Linked DNA regions of Homo sapiens: regions 2, 3, 4, 5 and 6 are each linked to region 1. The links are contacts of gene promoters, found by promoter capture Hi-C in blood cells and fetal thymus (Javierre and others, 2016). All regions are on one chromosome and are shown on one strand. Each heading gives the region's core, a stretch centred on a gene start or on the middle of the fragment in contact. The rest is flanking DNA. Distances are from core to core; before and after follow the strand shown. Region 1 holds the start of CLRN3 (clarin 3). Region 2 holds the start of FANK1 (fibronectin type III and ankyrin repeat domains 1). Region 3 overlaps ADAM12 (ADAM metallopeptidase domain 12). Region 4 overlaps ADAM12 (ADAM metallopeptidase domain 12). Region 5 overlaps ADAM12 (ADAM metallopeptidase domain 12). Region 6 holds the start of FANK1-AS1 (FANK1 antisense RNA 1).

The links. The method cuts DNA at HindIII sites, captures the fragments that hold promoters and counts their contacts. A CHiCAGO score of 5 or more calls a contact.
Region 2: a contact is called between the fragment with the promoter of FANK1 here and the fragment with the promoter of CLRN3 in region 1, in 4 of 17 cell types (M0 macrophages, naive CD8 T cells, activated CD4 T cells and 1 more). The highest score is 6.9, in M0 macrophages.
Region 3: a fragment that was not itself captured here is called in contact with the fragment with the promoter of CLRN3 in region 1 in 4 of 17 cell types (M2 macrophages, M0 macrophages, monocytes and 1 more); the score reaches 11.4 in M2 macrophages.
Region 4: a contact is called between a fragment that was not itself captured here and the fragment with the promoter of CLRN3 in region 1, in 2 of 17 cell types (M0 macrophages and M1 macrophages). The highest score is 12.7, in M0 macrophages.
Region 5: a contact is called between a fragment that was not itself captured here and the fragment with the promoter of CLRN3 in region 1, in 2 of 17 cell types (M0 macrophages and M1 macrophages). The highest score is 7.1, in M0 macrophages.
Region 6: a contact is called between the fragment with the promoter of FANK1-AS1 here and the fragment with the promoter of CLRN3 in region 1, in 9 of 17 cell types (non-activated CD4 T cells, naive CD8 T cells, activated CD4 T cells and 6 more). The highest score is 15.3, in non-activated CD4 T cells.

What each region holds. Positions count from the first base shown.
Region 1 is chr10:127,891,523-127,894,222 of GRCh38, forward strand. It overlaps CLRN3 (clarin 3), which reads right to left and starts at 1,419. Exons shown (of 3, transcript NM_152311.5): 1 at 1,034-1,419. The coding sequence starts at 1,262. The HindIII fragment of the contact is 797 bases long and covers 1,223-2,019 here.
Region 2 is chr10:125,895,105-125,897,931 of GRCh38, forward strand. It overlaps FANK1 (fibronectin type III and ankyrin repeat domains 1), which reads left to right and starts at 1,460. Exons shown (of 11, transcript NM_145235.5): 1 at 1,460-1,551. The coding sequence starts at 1,539. It also overlaps a transcript of DHX32 not described here. RefSeq lists silencers at 965-1,044, 1,265-1,344, 1,505-1,644, 1,736-2,030. The HindIII fragment of the contact is 2,086 bases long and covers 467-2,552 here.
Region 3 is chr10:126,048,092-126,050,919 of GRCh38, forward strand. ADAM12 (ADAM metallopeptidase domain 12) reads right to left here. Exons shown (of 23, transcript NM_001288973.2): 15 at 1,470-1,578; 16 at 1,162-1,360. Among named protein-coding and RNA genes, the nearest start is that of FANK1-AS1, 76 kb to the left of the region's middle. RefSeq lists an enhancer at 1,207-1,707. The HindIII fragment of the contact is 6,518 bases long and covers 1-2,828 here.
Region 4 is chr10:126,098,838-126,101,851 of GRCh38, forward strand. ADAM12 (ADAM metallopeptidase domain 12) reads right to left here. Exons shown (of 23, transcript NM_001288973.2): 9 at 2,235-2,404. Among named protein-coding and RNA genes, the nearest start is that of FANK1-AS1, 130 kb to the left of the region's middle. The HindIII fragment of the contact is 1,256 bases long and covers 1,018-2,273 here.
Region 5 is chr10:126,081,600-126,084,515 of GRCh38, forward strand. All of the region lies in intron 11 of ADAM12 (ADAM metallopeptidase domain 12), which reads right to left. Among named protein-coding and RNA genes, the nearest start is that of FANK1-AS1, 110 kb to the left of the region's middle. The HindIII fragment of the contact is 2,020 bases long and covers 605-2,624 here.
Region 6 is chr10:125,971,900-125,974,788 of GRCh38, forward strand. FANK1-AS1 (FANK1 antisense RNA 1) reads right to left here and starts at 1,374. Exons shown (of 4, transcript NR_102707.1): 1 at 1,355-1,374; 2 at 1,063-1,225; 3 at 838-946; 4 at 289-442. The region is part of intron 1 of FANK1 (fibronectin type III and ankyrin repeat domains 1); the gene reads left to right. The HindIII fragment of the contact is 7,061 bases long and covers 1-2,889 here.

The DNA.
Region 1 (2,700 bases), core at 169-2,668:
AAAGGCTATGGCAATGCTAGGGGAGATGCTGCTTTTGCTAACATCTAAATGACAAATGTATAACTTGGGAACATAACCAGGTTGCTTTGGATTTAAGAAAATAGTTTCATTAACAAAGTCATAAACACACTAGAGCTAGAACTTAGAGCTAGTGTCTAGGACTCAAACTTCTTCATGCATTACACAAGGACTAAACATTACATGTGTATAAGGTAGAAAATGATGCATATTTATAAGTCAAAAGGTAATGACTGTATGATACCCAATAATGCCTGTATAATACTTGCATACAACATTGTTCAAAACAAAGTCCACTTAATGTGTTACATAATTTACAAATGTTTTTAAATTTAGAAAACATGAAGGTAGGTTATCAAACCTCAAAAGTCAAATAAGTAGCTAAATCAACTTATTATTCTCAATGAACTTTTAATTTTACTTCCATGGAGAGGAGGGCATTATTATATAAGAAATCAGAAAAAAAAATGTTTAGGAATTCCTATCAAATATACAATTAATAAATTAATGGAAATTTAATATAATTTCCAACGATTAGATTTTTTGGAGGTAAATTAAAATCAGTTAAAGAAATGAACTTGAGAAATAGAGATAATAAATTTTCCATTTTACTCTTTCCTGCATAGATGCCACTTGTGAAGTTCTAGACAGAGGTTGTGGCTCCAGCTAAAAACCCAGTCAATACAGTTAAAACATGTGTTCCTACTGGCTATTCAATGCCGTATTGCTGCCACATATTTTTACTTATTTACTTGTCAGTCAACTTGGTAGGTATTATTTAAATACAGCCACTGCTAGAATGATATAGACTATTGTATTAATAGACACAAGGAGAACCGAGGAAGCTCAAATAATGACATGGCAAATTTCCAAAATTATGAGTTAAGCTTGTACCTTCAGCCTAACCCAAAACTTACAAAGAAATTATTTTTGAATGGTTATTTGGCCCAAATATAGAATGACATAAACCTTAATTCAATCTCACTATATTCATTCAAATTAGTTTATCATTTACCTGCAAACTTTTTCTTTGGTTCTGCAAGTCCGTGACTCAATTCTTCACTACTCTCCCCACGAAAAAGTCCGTAAGTGATGAAAATGCTCCCATTTGAAGCAGAGTCTCTAACAGCAATTGTACTGGTGATCCATGCTTGTGTCCCAAGAATAGAGCAAATTACAATGAAGGACCCAAGGCTGGTGAAAAAGCTTGATAAGAACATCAATGTCTTCTTTGTGGTAGGCATTTTCACAGGAAAATAAGTTCTCTAGGACAAAAAAAGGAATATCTTCTTATAACACTTTTGAACCTTATCTTTTGAAGTCTGGTATTTAGAAATGGAGTCTAACACTTTATTGTCAAATATAAAATCTCACTCTTCCTGAGGAAGGGTTATGCTAATGGACATTGAACTCTGAACATGGCCATAAAATTAACAGTAGCTGAACTTTGGTCTGGAGTAAGAGGCTGCTATGGTTACAGCCAACCAGCATGAACAAGGGGTGGGCATGGTCTTCCCAGGGACTTCCTCAATCATGCAATTAATTTATAATCCTTGGCCAAGTGTCATGGAAGCAAGTTTAGCCTACCATATCATGACAGGAGTAGAATTCCTAAATAATAGGGCGTGGAGGATCTGTATTCCCAAAGCGTTGCTGAGTCTAGCAGACAACAACATGAAACCCCAACTCCTCCAAGAATTATTGGAAATATGTAAACATATACTTCACTATTGTGGATATTTATGTTGCTTCAATTTCACAATTATGATTGAGAAAGAACAACACCCAAATATCTTTAGGCATAAACCTTTGTTCATATCTCCACTTGCTTCCTTGCTTAAACTTCTAGAAGTTTGACGAAGTCTGTGGATTTTTCTGAAGTTTTTGCTATGCATTGCTCAGTTTCTTTACTCATTAGTGATTTGACTCTTATAATTGTTCCAAGAGGAATCCTAAGGAGGGTAAACCTTTGTCAAATGTACTGTGGAGTGGAAAGAGAAAAGCTTACACCTCCTTATGTTTTATACCTCTCTATTTTTAGACTTTATCAGAGAGGTTTGGCTTTCAAATTTCCTCTTTCAAATTGGATCATATTTGCGTATTATTTAAATTATATCTTGAGAAGTTTCATCTTTATTACTTTTTAGTACTCTGATAGAGATGGTTCTGAACATTCTTGTTTTTGGTCGTTATAGCTGTATCCACTCTGTTGAATGGTAAATAGTTTATAAATGGTCATTTCTGGACTTTCGAAAAACTCTCCCATTTGGCGAAAAGATCATTTCTTGAGATGATAAATAGACATTCATAGCATGTTTTCCATACCGCTTTTTACTGTATTCTTTGATTATTTAGTAATATAATATTAAGTTGGTGCAAATGTAATTGCAGTTTTTGCCATTAAAAGTTACATTTACTTTTAATGGCAAAAAAACGCAATTACTTCATCCTCTACTTTTCTTCATTAACACCTAACTTATTTGTGGAACTAGCTGATCATCTGTCTTTTCCGTTATTGTAACTAGATGACATGCTCCGGGAGGTGGACATGTTTGTTTTGTGTACCACTGGATTCCAGGGAACTCTCAAAGAGCCTGGCCCAGAGAAGACACTCAGCAAACATTTGTTCAATAAATTATTGGAGATACGTACACACATACTCTACTACTGTGGACACTTATG
Region 2 (2,827 bases), core at 210-2,709, 2.0 Mb before region 1:
AAGTCCCCATATAGTCTGAGAGGGGGAAAACCTAATTTGGAAGAATATAATAAATGTCAGTTTCCATCACAGAATATATGCTTCTCAAGTTCAATTAACCTCTCAATGATTCCCTAAGAGGAAAGTAATTCTCCTTAGTGTCCTTGTCATCCATGGAGTGGAAATCTTTCTACTGGCAAGATTAGTAATCACTTCCATGACCCCCAAAACGGCTCTTCCTTCCATTTCCCTCAAGTACTGTCTGGAGCAGCGGTTGGAATTAATAGAGGGGCCATAATCTCCAGACCTGAATACCAAATCAATCCTGCAGCCCCCCACACCCTTAATGCCCCTGCACTTTCTTGCTTATCCTTTTTCTCTCGTCTCCATTTTTCTTTCCTCCTTCTGGTGTTCCGGAACCTATGATACTCTCCTGGTTGTTTGAATTTTTACAACCTACCAGATAATAATCTCTTGTGATCCTCAAAGCTTCCTTAAAGCAAACCCTGAATCACTGTGTTTTAAAACCAGTATGAAAGACTATTGTGTGGGATAATGTTACATTGTTTCACAGCCCTACAAAGTTTGGCCACAAAACGTGTGGGCAGATTCCGTAACTCAACCGGAAACGCGAAGGACTGAAACAAATCAACACACAAAAAACGAAGCCAGCGAGAAAGATCCAACCCGGGCCCCCTGCCTGAAATGGGACACGGGGATGACGGGGCAAAGCCGGGCAAAACCGTGCTCCTGGCTCTCGCGATTCAGGAGACGCGCCAGGCTCACTGGGGACGACAGCGACGACGGCGGCGGCTCGCATTGCTCCACGCTTCCCGTCAGGGGGGCTCGAGGGACCGCCCCAGGCCCGGCCCATGCCCGGGCTCGGAGGGAGCCCCTGGTGCGAGGGCTGCCCGCAGGGCTCCGTCCTCCCGCTGAGGCGCGGCTCCCGGAGCAGGAGGCGCGGAGGCCGCCCTCGGCGTTTCGGAGTCGGGGCGGGGAACGTCCACGGCCAACTGCGGGCAGGGGACCCCCAGGCGGCTACAACAGGTGCGCCGGGGCCGCCCACCCGGCTCGGGGCGCGCCCGCCCCTGCGCCGACCCCCGACCCCTTCCGCCGCCGGGGCCCCGCTGTTACCTGCAGCGGCGGCTCCCGATTCCCGGGAGGGCGGCCCAGGGCCGGCGCCTTACCCGCGGGCAGGCCCACTCGCCCGACGGACGCCGCGGGTCGGCGACAGCGGGGACCGCGGGTCGGCGACGTCGGGGCACAGGTCCTGCGGGGCCGCGGGGGCCGCCAGGGAGGGCGCGACCGCCTGACCGGGCTTCAGGAGCAGTGTCCTCAGCCGGTGACCTGGCCGCTACCCTCGCTCAGTGTCCCCGGCGACGCGCGGGTCCTCACGCGCTCCCTCACTTCCTGCGGCTTTTGGTCCCTCCCGCTCGCCGTCCCTTTAGTTCTGCCCACTTCGCCTCCGGGTTGTCAGGGCAACCGTAGCGACGCCGGCCCTGGCTGAGAGGCGTTAGGAGTCCGGGGGTTCGCCCGCGGAGGCCGGGGAGCAGCCGACCATGGAGCCCCAGAGTAAGGGAGGCCCGGGCTGGAGCTGGGACCGGGGCGGGCGACCGGGCTGGGGCTCCCCGGGAACGAGTGTGGGCGCCCCGCGCGCGACTCCGCAGGTTTCAACGCTCGGACACGGAAATACGGTTTGCGTCTCCTCGCGCTTTTCTCTCCTGGAGAGGGGAGAAGGGGGCTACATCCTGCCAAGTCTGTATGGTTGGGCCGCCGGCGCCCTAGAGTCCGCGCTGGGGGCTGGGAGCGACTGGAGAGCCCCGAGGTATGGGTGGGGAAGGGCGCAGCGACCCCAGCGTGCGTCTTCCTGAAACTTCGCCCGGACGGTTCCATTTACTCCTCCTCCTACTCATGATTTTAGTTTGGTAGTTTGGTTCATTAATTGTAAGTAGCCCATTTTTCTTCTAAAATGTCAGCAATTAAACACGTCCGAGGCTGGGTCTTGTATTTATTAGAGACCCCGTCTTACTCCCCGCCCCCCGCCCCACACCCCTAGTCTGCGACTTGAAGGAGAGAGAGAGAAAAGAAGAGCTTTGTCCAAGTGTATTTGATTCATTCTTAGGGGTTCTACAAGTTAGGACACTCAAAAAATGTTTGTAATCTCTTTTTCTGTTTTCCCATGTTGCTTTCGATGTATGGCAAAAGTTGTGCAGTTTTGAGTTATCAGATCTAAACACGAGCTCTAACTTACTATTTTTGTTGTTGTTTTTACCTTTCCAGGGACTTTGTTTCAAGGCCTTTCTTTCTCTGCCCCGCCTAAGCTGTCTTATTGTTCCTTTTGTTCTCAAAATAAGGGGAGTGTTTTGTATGGAGACTTAAAATTTATCTAAAACCTTTATAGAAGGATGCAGTTTGACTCTCAAACCAAGTCGTCTTATCTTGTACAATTTCAGAAATGAAGAACTCAGACCAAATCTATTCTCTGGGGAAAATGTTGGCATTTTTAAAGGTCATTCGTTTTCCACCAAGAAAGTTTCAAATACTTTTCCTTTTAACTCATTTGCTGAGGAGAAAGCTTGCAAGTTGTGACTTATAGTTGCTTGATAGATTTTGTACAGTATTTGTCATTTGCATTTACAGCTCTTTGGATTCTACATTTTTTTAACCTAGTAAAAGAAATTTAGCATACAAGAACGCTAAAATTTTTGTTTTATGTCAAACTGATGGCAGGCTGTGTATATTCCCGCCTTAGAGAAGTGAGTTGAAATATACCTTTTAAAAACAGCAACTTGGCCTGGCCCGGTGGCTCACGCCTGTAATCCCAGCACTTTGGGAGGCTGAGGCAGGC
Region 3 (2,828 bases), core at 148-2,647, 1.8 Mb before region 1:
TGAGAACACATAGGCACATACAGGGGAACAAAACACACTGGGCCTATCAGAGAGTAGAGGGTGAATGAGGGAGAGGATCAGGAAGAATAACTAATGGGTACTAGGCTTAGTATCTGAGTGACAAAATAATCTGTACCACAAGCCCCCATGACACAAGTTTACCTGTATAACAAACCTGCACATGTACCCCTGAACCTAAAAGTTAAAAGACAAAATATGATTTGAGCCTAAAAATATCAGATGTCATTTTAATGTCAAGGCCTGAATATGAGCAAATGTGGGTAAGGAGACATTCAGAATGTATAAGAAGATTCATGTACGATCCTATTTCTCAAGGAAAAAGGATTTGTGGCTCAGGGTGTGTGGGGCCAAAGACAGGAGAGTGGAGGCAACACCTGTCCTCAGGATTCTGTCTCTGCCTCTGTCTTTTCTTGCCTGTGTGACCTCATGTTAGTGAGTGATTTCAAGACCATGTTGAAAATGGAGTCCTAAGAAGCATTTGGGGGTTGTTTCATCCTTTTCTTAAAACATTGTATTCGCTTGCTGTCATTTAGTCTGATGAGAAAGTTTGGTGAAAAAAAAAAAATCAGTATGGCAGAGCATGAAAATCTCAAATTCTTTTTTTCTTCCAAAAAAAAAAAAAGTTTGACTTTATTTCTAAACCTCAAAATATCTCCATGTATCTTTCTCCCTGTTCTCTGAAAGGACTCCCCTCTGGTTTTGAGTTTCTTCCACTCCTTTCCCTCTCCTATTCTTCTCTCTACAGGGTTCTAAAAATACATCTGATTTCCCATTCTGTTCAGGTGAGGACAAGCCCCCAAGAACTCTGTGCTAAAAACCAAGCCACATATCCAAAACCAATAGAATATGCGATTGTATTTCTTTCCAAAGTAATTTCCTGGCTAGAAGTCCTCATGCCACCTGGAGTGTAGAAATGACTTATTAACACTCAAGGCCTAAGAAGACAGGCTTGATTTTTCCCCAATCTGCATTTTAATAGTCAGACCAGGATCTAGGATTTATTGACTTTTTCTTCTAGGTGCATCTGAGAAGAAGTAGATTTAGGAAAACCAACAAACCTTGTAACCCAGTTCTTGCTGTTTTTCAATGGGCCCTGTTCCAGACTTACATTTATGATCCAAGCAAACATTTGGGTCTTACTTTTCCATCTGCACACTTTGTGCCTGCAAGCACAAGCCCTGGGTCCGGCATGTCATCGCCCAAGTACACGTGGGTCCCCCGGCACAGAATCCGGCCTCCTTGCTGCAGGGGGATGTTTGTTTCTATGGAAACGGCATTGGTACCAATGACTGGCCGGCTGGCACCTCCTTGACACTGGATTTTTCCACATTTAGCATCTCTGGAAGGGTAAGAACAAACAATTCCCAAGGAGAAACCATTTGGAACCAACCCTATGCAATGTGGGAAGGTCAGAGCAAAGACTTTGCCAGGATGTCTGGATTCCATACCTCATCTCGCATTTGGCAAAGGAACTCTTCGAGACTTTGCCACAGTTGCCATAAGGATCACCTGCAGAATTGACTCTCTCAAAGCAGATCCCAGGGGCAGGTTTAGCACCTGAAACAGAAGCAGAACTGCATTTTCATCTCCTGCAGGTGATTTTTTTTTTTTCATGGCTGTAGGCCTCTCAAATGGTTACGGGGAGACGTGCTCAAAGCAATCACACCCAGTGTCTGTCCCGACTCATGGTGGGAGCTGGCCAGGGGAAGCCTAGGGTGTCAGCAGCTCGCATCCTCTCTTGACTCGGCCTCTGGCAGAGCACATGTTCCAATGCTTACTCTTCCTTAGGTCTGCTCTCTGGGCTTGTGGCATGTGTGGCCTCTCAGGAAATGAGGCCTGGCTGTGGAATGAGATCTGATCCAGGGCAGAAAGGAGGTGGCTGGCTGGCTGGCTGGCTGGCTGGCTGGCTGGCTGGCTGGCTGCAGAGAAGGGGAAGTTTGCTCTCTTTAACAACATCCCACACAATTCCGGTGAGGAAATGCAAGCCAGGGCAGGCTCCAAAGGAGCAATGAAGATATCTTCTATGATATTTTTAGTCCCATAAAGCTCCCTATAAGAGAAAGTACTACCTTCTTTTAATACCTTCTATTTTATTTGCAAGGCAGAGATTTCTCTCAGAGGCCATGGAGTCATAAACCCTGGTAATCCCTATGTACAACATGACGGTTCCCAGCAAAGAGGGTCATGGCAGCCAGAGAGCTCAGAAATGGCCATTTTTAGCACATCTTCCAGCCACGGAGAGAGCACATATAATCAGCATTTGCAGCCAAAGTTCTGGAGGACTCCTGAATCCTGGACATAGTGATGTCTGTTGAAGACTATTGAGCAAGTCAAGAAAACATGCCACATTCTTTAGAACAAACCATGCCCTGCGGCGTGGTCCCTTTTCTCTCCCTGATTGGTGTCCTGTTTGGCACTTTATCTCACATCGCTTCTGATGGCCAGGATGCCGACACTCCAGAGCCTCACTCTGACTCCTGCCCTTCTCTGCTCTCCACCCTGGGGAGGCTTTGCTTTCCAAGGTGACAACGGATTTATTTAAGATACCTCGTCCCAGGGAACAGAAGATGTTCTTCTTACTAAAAACATCCCCCTTCGTTAGCCTGCACCTGATCCCTTCTCATCAGCTACTAGCAGACATGATCATCTCATTCAACACACACGTGCCACACCACCTTGCCATCATTTGATGTGAACAGTGTGCTCAGCGCTCCAATCTCTGCAATGAGCCAGCCTTGCACCTCTCCTTTTCTCATTTCTTTTATAAGCCATGTTAGAGAAGCCTCTGCAATCTCTTTTTTCAGGGG
Region 4 (3,014 bases), core at 396-2,895, 1.8 Mb before region 1:
CACAGAGAATCACTGTTAACTAAAAGAAATGCATTAGATGGTTTACTAGATTTTCACCATAGCTTAACTGCTTTCCTGGGTAACTTACTACAGTTCTGCCAGACACCCAAATTCTTTCAAATTGTCCCGCTAAGATAGCTTGCAAAATTGAAATGGGCAGAAAAATTATCAACCCTGGAGCCGGTGTAGAACAAGTGAGCACCCACAAAGCCTTGGCACCTAGGGAGGAAGCTTCTGGAAGGGGACTTCATGGCTTCAATGCAGTCGTCCTTCTATCTGGAATCTTAACCTGATCATGAATCTAATGACACCAAGGGCCTGTTGAACACAAGTGCTGTTAATTCCAACCTCATGCATGAAAAACAAAACGCTGTATTTGTTGAATTTCCTTTAAAGGAGTCAAATGACTTACCAATGCTATCTTGGCCATGTATGTATACAGATATATTGTTTGAAAAGTTAGATATTTTAGCTATGGTCAATTGAACAGAAAGTGGTAAGTGTATATAAAACCTTCTCCCTCCTTCCCTCCCTCCCTCTCTCCCTCCCTCTCTCCCTCCCTCCCTCTCTATCCACCTATCCCACTATACTTATATTTACAGTGGTAGAAATTTCGGCCTTTATTTACATCTATATAGACTATATGAACAGATATAATTATACATGTATATAAATAATAAAGTTACATAAGATGATAATTTATTTCCAGATGTTCAAGTTGGACAGACTCCATTTGGGAAAAATATCAAAACACTCTGACTCAAAATACATAAAATGTACTTTTAGTAGTTCAAGACTAATCAATGCATAAAATGTGAGGCAACCACAAATATCCAAGGGTAGGGGCAGGGGGGAACCCTGTGAAAATGGCCGAAGTAAATTATCAAAGAATGCCAACAGCCTCAGTTCAGACGTAGGCATTTTCTGAAGTGACAATGGGGTAGGACTGGTTTTTTAACTTTCCACAAATGTTCAATAGCTACATTGGGTTTGTCAAAGGAAAGTCTCTGTCCCAGAAGCTTTCCTTTCTGTGCTATAAGCCACATGACAACAAAAGAATAATAGCACAAAGTATTTAAAGATTTAAATAAAAATTTGTCACTTCTAGAAACATCTACTTCATACTAATTTAGATTGTTCCTTTTTTTTTTAAGTATAAAAGCATCGGCAACATCTCAACAATTTTTGTGTTATAATAGAGCTATGCTTTGCCTTAGTTTATCATCTTCCAGTTGATCCTGCTGAAATTGTCCTCTTTATTGTTGTCTCTCAGTAGAGTGGAGACTTCTGAGAGCAGGGAGATTTACAGTGTTGGTCACCACTGTGTTCAAAGCCCCCCAAACACTCTTTGGTTCCTAACGGGTGATGCATATTGATTTAAAGAGGGAACACAAGGTTAATGTGCTATGCTTCCCGGTATTCTCTGATCTAGAAAACCAAAGAGTCACAGCCACAACAGGAGGAGGAATAAAGTCTTTTTTCCCTCCAGGAATCTGACAGTATTCACCCAAAGTACTGTCCTTAGATATTGTATAAACATACATTTTCCACTAATAATGATGAATCTTTAAAAACAGGCTCCTCGGCCTGGCGCGGTGGCTCATGCCTGTAATCCCAGCACTTTGGGAGGCCGAGGTGGGCGGATCATGAGGTCAGGAGATTGAGACCATCTTGGCCAACATGGTGAAACCCTGTCTCTACTAAAAAAAAAAAAAAAAAATACAAAAATTAGCTGGGCGTGGTGGCGTGTGCCTGTAATCTCAGCTACTCGGGAGGTTGAGGCAGGAGAATCACTTAAACCAGGGAGCTGGAGGTTGCAGTGAGCTGAGATCATGCCACTGCACTCCAGCCTGGTGACAGAGAGAGACTCTGTCTCAAAAACAAACAAACAAACAAAAAACAAAACAAAAAAATAGGCTACTCAGAACAACTTTACATCACAGCTAAAATCAGAAAAATTGGTATAGAAGAAAATGTCCGGGTTCTAGAAGAAGGAAATGAGAGTTCTGTAGAGGGACAGGTTTTCCAGGGTGTTCAGAGGGAGACTTTCCTAGCAGACCTTCAGTTCCAGGTGAGGGTGGCATCTGCCCCCCTGGTGTGAGCTGAGAAGCCCCCTTGCACAAGGCAGTGTGCTCTGCAGAAAGGTGGCAGCTCCTGGGGCTGTGCAGGTGAAACGAAGGGCTTCGCCGAGAGCACTCCTTTTTTTTTTAAGCAGACAAGACGTAACTCCCTACCTGACAAGCTGCGCATTGTCATGGGATTTGCGAGGTAGAAGCTTCATCTTCCTCCAGTCCAGAAATTCATGGAGGCTGGTGAATGGGTCCTGACTTACAGAGCATTTGTCCATGTCATTCCACACTTCCACGCCTACCAACACGATCCGAATGTTCAGTGGTCTGTAAAACTGGGCAAAACAGGCAAAACTGGCATTGGAGTTGGGATCACGTTAATAAAAACTCGAAATGAAAATTAGAACAGATTTGCGTTATTTGAGGGTCACTGACACAGGTGAGAAAAATATCTCTGTGCTCTTTGGTTCCTGTGGTGTTGGAATTTAAGAAATATTTGCAGTGCCTAATGCAAAGTGATGTGTTAACTAGGTTCTCGAAGATTGACCAATTAGATGCTGAAGTTATCAGCTTTTTTACTGTCTACTTGCATTTGTATGGAAGCATACATTTCAAATGACTCACTGGTGATTTAAAATGTACATACAGATGTGTATTATAGCTAAAGATGGCCAGTTAATATCCACTGCAAGTGAAACAATAAGTGAATTAGGATCTTTCAGACACTTCTGCCAAGGACAATAACTTGTTCATTTTGAGCAAAATGTTCTGCTTATTAGTTACTGAAAATGAATCTGTATTAATTTTTCAGCAAAGTCTCAGCTCTGGCTAACACTATCATATTCTGTCACCTATAATCAACGCAGGTTTTAATAAAATAAAGAAGTCAATATCTTTCAGAATAACAAAGGCATAAACAGAGCCCTTCTTCAGGAACATTAATGA
Region 5 (2,916 bases), core at 365-2,864, 1.8 Mb before region 1:
GAACTCAAGTCCGAAGCCTATGTCTGAGCAGCCTATCTGTACTTCATTGAGCCTCTGTTTTCACATCTATAAAATAGGGATAACAACTACCTCATTGCACTGAAGTGGAGGCTAAACGAGCTTCAAACAAAAAGATCAAAGTCTGGTTAACTTCCAAGCACTGTGAAATGCTAGCTCCTAGTACTGACAGGCAAAAGATGTGTCTTTCTTTCTCCCATTGGGAGTTGCCCTGACTGCGAATCCCCCCGTATATGATAGTGCTCAAGAACATTTCCAATATGGTATAGAATGTAGTACTTGTAGCCAAAATAGAGCACGCTTTACACTGTAAAACCACAAATACAAGTAAATTTGAGAGCAAGATGATTCAGGAGGCGAAGGGATGAGCAAACAGTTAAAGATCATTCCCTCCGTTTAATACATAGATGGTGTCAAAGAAGCAAAACAGCCTGTTCCATTCTGGAAGGGCCAGTTTTTCTTTAGCTCAACAAGAGCATGTAGTTAGGAGCACAACCAACCAATGAAGCAATCCACAAACAAAACAAAAACGCCATTTAGATGGCTGTTACCTGCTACGCAGCTGTGGTTGTCTTCTGTTCCTGAAAGCTTTTTTCTGGCCCTTTTCATAAAGCTCATGTCACATGAGCTCACCCCACATCTTCCGTCCATTTCCTGGCCACAGCCAAGTCCAGGCACTGAGCTCAGAGTGAGACGTGGCCACAAATTGTGGGATCCATTCTCTGGAGAAGACAATCTAATGACTGTTTTTTTTTTTTTTTTTTTTTTTTATGTGGAGTTTCGCTCTGTAGCCCAGGTTGGAGTTCAGTGGTGCGATCTCGGCTCACCGTAACTTCCGCCTCCCGGGTTCAAGCGATTCTCCTGCCTCAGCTTCCTGAGTAGCTGGGATTACAGGTGCACACCACCATGCCTGGCTAATTTTTTTGTATTTTTATTAGAGATGGGGTTTTGCCATGTTGGCCAGGCTGGTCTCAAACTCCTGACCTCGGGTGATCCACCCACCTCGGCCTCCCAAAGTGCTGGGATTACAGGCGTGAGCCACCATGCCGGCCACAACTTTTATCATTCATTCCATAACTAGCTTGCTGAGCTTTTCCAAAAACAACTTAGCCATTCTTAGTTCACAGCCAGTTCTACATATTCCTAGTCCCTTGAGAAGCATAAGCCCAACATGAATTCCCTCTTCTCTTCCCAAGTGAGAGCGAGGTCCTCTTACAGTATGAGGGGGCAGGGGACCACAGTGTGGGGAATGGACATTGCTTGGACAAGCTGCTGACCAAAAATTCTAGGGCCATCTTCAGGAAAATCTTCAGGTCTTTCCCCAGTTATGCCCAACAATAAAAACTTTCAATCACCACACACAGAATTTATGTGCAACCAAGTAGCACGCCTGGTAGGCCAGGGCGGTGGCATTTGTACTCGCAGGTGACCGGCCTCATGTTCAGTGCCGTGGCAGGCCTGCTGTGGATGCAAGGAGGTCATCTCATTTTAGGGGCTTTTTACTCCATGCTGCCTGGAGCGGGGCTGGCCAGGAGCCACCATTTGTTTAGTGAAACCCTGCTGGGGACCAGAAGCCTGGCAGACATTCTCTCACTGACACCTCTGGGAGCCAATTATGACTCCTATTTTAGAGATGAGGAAGCTGAGTGCAGGCAGCTTGGGTTCCTTGCCGGGACCCTGCAGTTCCTGCGTGGAGACTGAAAGCACAGATCTGACTAGAAGGCCTGTGTTCTTCCCACTCAACCACACCGTCTCGAGGGCTATCAGGAGCTGCCCCAGGGCAGGGCCTCTGGGCAGCCTCAGGCATGACCCAGCACAAATGGCTATGCCAGCAGCAGTAGTATCCATGGGTTGGGAGAGGCAGCTGCTCCGATGCCTCGGGACTCCCTGGAGCCAGACGTAAACAGAAGGAACACCCAAGGTTCTACACTTCCTTCCAGGTGTACCTTAGAGGACTTCCCTAAAGGTCTTTGGTGTAACAGAAGACAAAGGCCCAGTCTTGGGATTCATCCAGCTAGCCTGAGGTGATACCTGGGCCAGATCGTGCACACCTGAGGAGGGCTGCAAGCCTGTTGAGACCCTAATGAGCTGCAGGCAGGGGAAATAGGCGCCCCGCCTCAAAAGCCTCGTGACTCCTCCTCATGGTGTGATGGGAGAGGGAGCTGGGCCTGAGTCAGCCCACTCTGCCTGCCCAGCGGTGCACAGGGACACAGCTCTGACCACACAGGCTCAAACGATAGAACAGAACCGAGGCTGAAGCTAATGGGGCAATCCATCCTCACGTCCACTCCAGAAACAGAAAGTGACTGCCTTATAACTGGACGCTGAGCCAGTGGGCCAACCAGACGGACCACAGAAAGCTAAGAAAACCACCAGGCCAGGAGCAAATGACCAGAAAGATCCTTAGTAGGCCATTTCCATTGTTAATAGCAAACACCTGGGCCCCAGAATGCAGCCATCTGCAGCACATTATAATTCATGGTCTTAACTTGTGAACTTTGACCTCTGCTCCTCCTCCCTGAAACCAATTTAAGTGCAAATATAATTTCCCAGAATTTTTAATAAAGTCACCAACTGAGCTCTGGTCAGTTGAGACATGTACAGGAAGCTTCTGGACGTTACCAGAAAGTGGACTTTTCACTTCTGAGCTACGATGGCTATTTCTTCCTGCACCAAGTCCTGAAAGACCAAGAACCCAGGGGCGGGGGACACAGTGTCCATATTAAAAGGACCTCAGCCCATCAGAGGCCATGTATCAGACGAGCTACTCAGCTTCATTGCAAGAAATGACTGCTGAATTTGTGTGGGGGTTGTTGGAGGAGCAGACTCTCGTAGACATGGACAGATGCAGTGGTTAATAATGGACAGTGGGCATGTCTGAAATGGTACCACCCTTTC
Region 6 (2,889 bases), core at 124-2,623, 1.9 Mb before region 1:
TACAGGTGTGAGCCACTGCGCCCGGCCGCTCCGGTCTACATTTTATATCTCTACTCTTAAGAGGCAGTATGGTACAAGGTTAAAAGTAAGGGACTTCTGAGCCAGATTATCTTCATTTTAATCCTGGTTCTACCAGTTATTTCTGTGTGACCTTGGGCAAGTTATGTAACTTCTCTGTGCCTCAGATTGTTTATAAGGGAGATAATAAAAATCCTTACAGCATATAGAGTTGGTGAAGTTAAATGTGGTGAAAGTTAAATGAATAAATAAAGCATCCACACTAGTACATGACCCAAATTAAGTGTCATATAAGTGTTGCCGCATTGCAGTTCTCCTCAGTGACGGCCTGTGACCTGCCATTTCTGTCGGCTCTTACCAAGGCTCGGTGCCGCCCCGGGCCTCTGCTCCATTGTCATAGTAATGTTTGCACTCTGCTAGTCACCTGTAAATATACATATTTAGGATCCTAAAACCAATATCCTAAAATATGTATATTAGCAGATGATGACAAAAACACCAGAATTTTTATCAAAGAGAAAGTAGAAAGTATATGGGTTAATATTGTAAGGATTAGGATACACCTGTCAAATTACTCTAGGTTGGCTTAGAAACAAAGCAAAACAAATTGGGTCCCATCCACTATTTTTTGGCATTCTGAAAATAACTAGCTCTTACCTGATGAGGTCATTCATTCATGACCTGACCATCCAGGTCCTATCTGGCAATAATAGCTTTTTGCAAAAAGCAACTCTTGCCTAAGTGGAGATTTACATCTTGATGAGTTTTGTATGAAAGTAAAGAAGATGCAGGAACATTATCAGTGGGGCGTACACTAACCATTGGCATTTCTGAGCAACGTGTTGCGTAGTTGTGTGATTTGGCAGCAGCTGGTCCATTGCTGACACGTGTGTGTGTTCACTGAGGCTTCACTCACACCTAAGGCTTCCTTGGAGAGACCATGCTGCCATTACATTTGGATCACTACCTGCCCCCAACACACACACACACACACACACACACACACACACACACACGAACCAACTTTCCAAGCACCACACCCACCTTTTCCGGGCTCTGTACCAGATCTGGAGGGGTGATGGCTAGAAGTGAGGGTTTTTGCTCCATCATGAGTAGCAGCTGGAAGTGGGCCTGTGCCCAGCTCTGGTGGCAGTGGGCCACCTGTGGCTGGTGCCAAGCTCACTGATGGAGATCTCTCATTATGTACCTACATCAATGATCAGTAAAGAACAAGCCATAAGAAACTTTTGGGTCTCTGGGAATGTTATCTTTTTACTCCTCATATAACTTCATGGTGAACTGTTTTGAAATTTGACATTAATTTAGAATTTCTTGCCTGTTCTGATCTCTAGTAGGATTCTAGGCTGGATGTCTTTGGAATTGAAATACTTGTTGGCTTCTGGTTATTTTGGGGGTAATCCATAACAGTCTACCATTCCTGGTGTTTGGTTTTAGTGGGCTGTGAAAAAAATCATTTGTTCAACACTGATGTCGTGATACAAGGACGTGAAGATGTGAGTCATTGTGACATCACCAGCCAGAATTGCTGGGATTCAGTGAGATGACTCACAGTAAGAGGTCAGTGTCTGGTTCAGTAGTTCCTTCTTCCACATGTATCCCTCAGTATCTAGAACCCTGAAATTGGTTTCTCTAAGAAAACCAAGAGGCCCATAAGGGTAATGTATACTGTTGATTTTTATGGTTATTTTTCAAAAACTAATATTTTAAACATATCAAAATTATTTCAAATGGTAATGTACTCAATGTACCATTTGGTTTAAGATGTTAACATTTTGCCATATATGTCATAAAGTCTTTTCATGAAGAAATCAAACCTTACAAATATACTGGTAAGACCCCCCTCCTGCCCATCATGCCCCCATCCCTTCCGTTATGTTGTTGAGGTGGTGTATGTTCTTCCCTTCAGCTTTTTAACTTTTACTACATATCTGTGCATTCATAAATAACATGTAGTGTTTTTTGCGTGTTATGTAGTGTGTCCTTTTGCAACCCATGTTTTCCACCCATCCATTTTGAATTGATCTATGTTGATGCAGGTGTATACAAAACTCATACAGCTAATTTCTTTTAGTTGTTGTATAGGATTTTACTGTAGGAAATATGCCATCATTTATTTAGATACTTTGTAACTTAATTATCACAAAACACTTTGTGGTATTTTTAACTCAGTTTCAGAGAACATATTCAAACCTAGGTTTATCCAATTCCATCATGCTTTCTATAAACATTTGGAAAATAAAGTTGGGAAAGTGAGCTTGCAGGCTGCCTCCTAGCATATCTCTGGGGTCTTCGTGTAAGGGAAATTGTTGGCTGTGTGCCCCACTGGCCTGGGGTGGCAAGACCAGGGCAGCCCTGTCTTCGTCAGTGGGTCTGCACTGCAGGAAGACCCCTGGGTCTTCAGAGGGTGCTGGTCAGCTACTTGGGACATTGGCTCAAGGGAAATACAAGATCCTTTTTTTTTAAATGAACAATGCAGTAAATCTGTGATATATTTGAGGCTCAAGAAGGATTGAGTTACAGGGAGAAGTTTCAAAGGAAGTGTAAGACATGGACCCAGCCTGTAAGAAACTTAAAGTGTAGCAGGGGAGACAAAACTAACATAGAACAATTGCATGCTACACAGCTTGGTATACACTCTACTGCACCCCTTGTTACCTTTGGCAAAAATGAGATATTCTGTGTTTTTCTTTGCACCTTGATTTCTCACCCAACAATACTTAGTGGAGGTCCTTTCAAAGCACCTAGTATAGAACAAATTCATTTTTCAAAGGGTGTATAATGTTCCACTTTATGGACATAGAATAACTTATTTGTCCAGTCTCTTATAAATGGGTCATCTTTTGTTTTGTT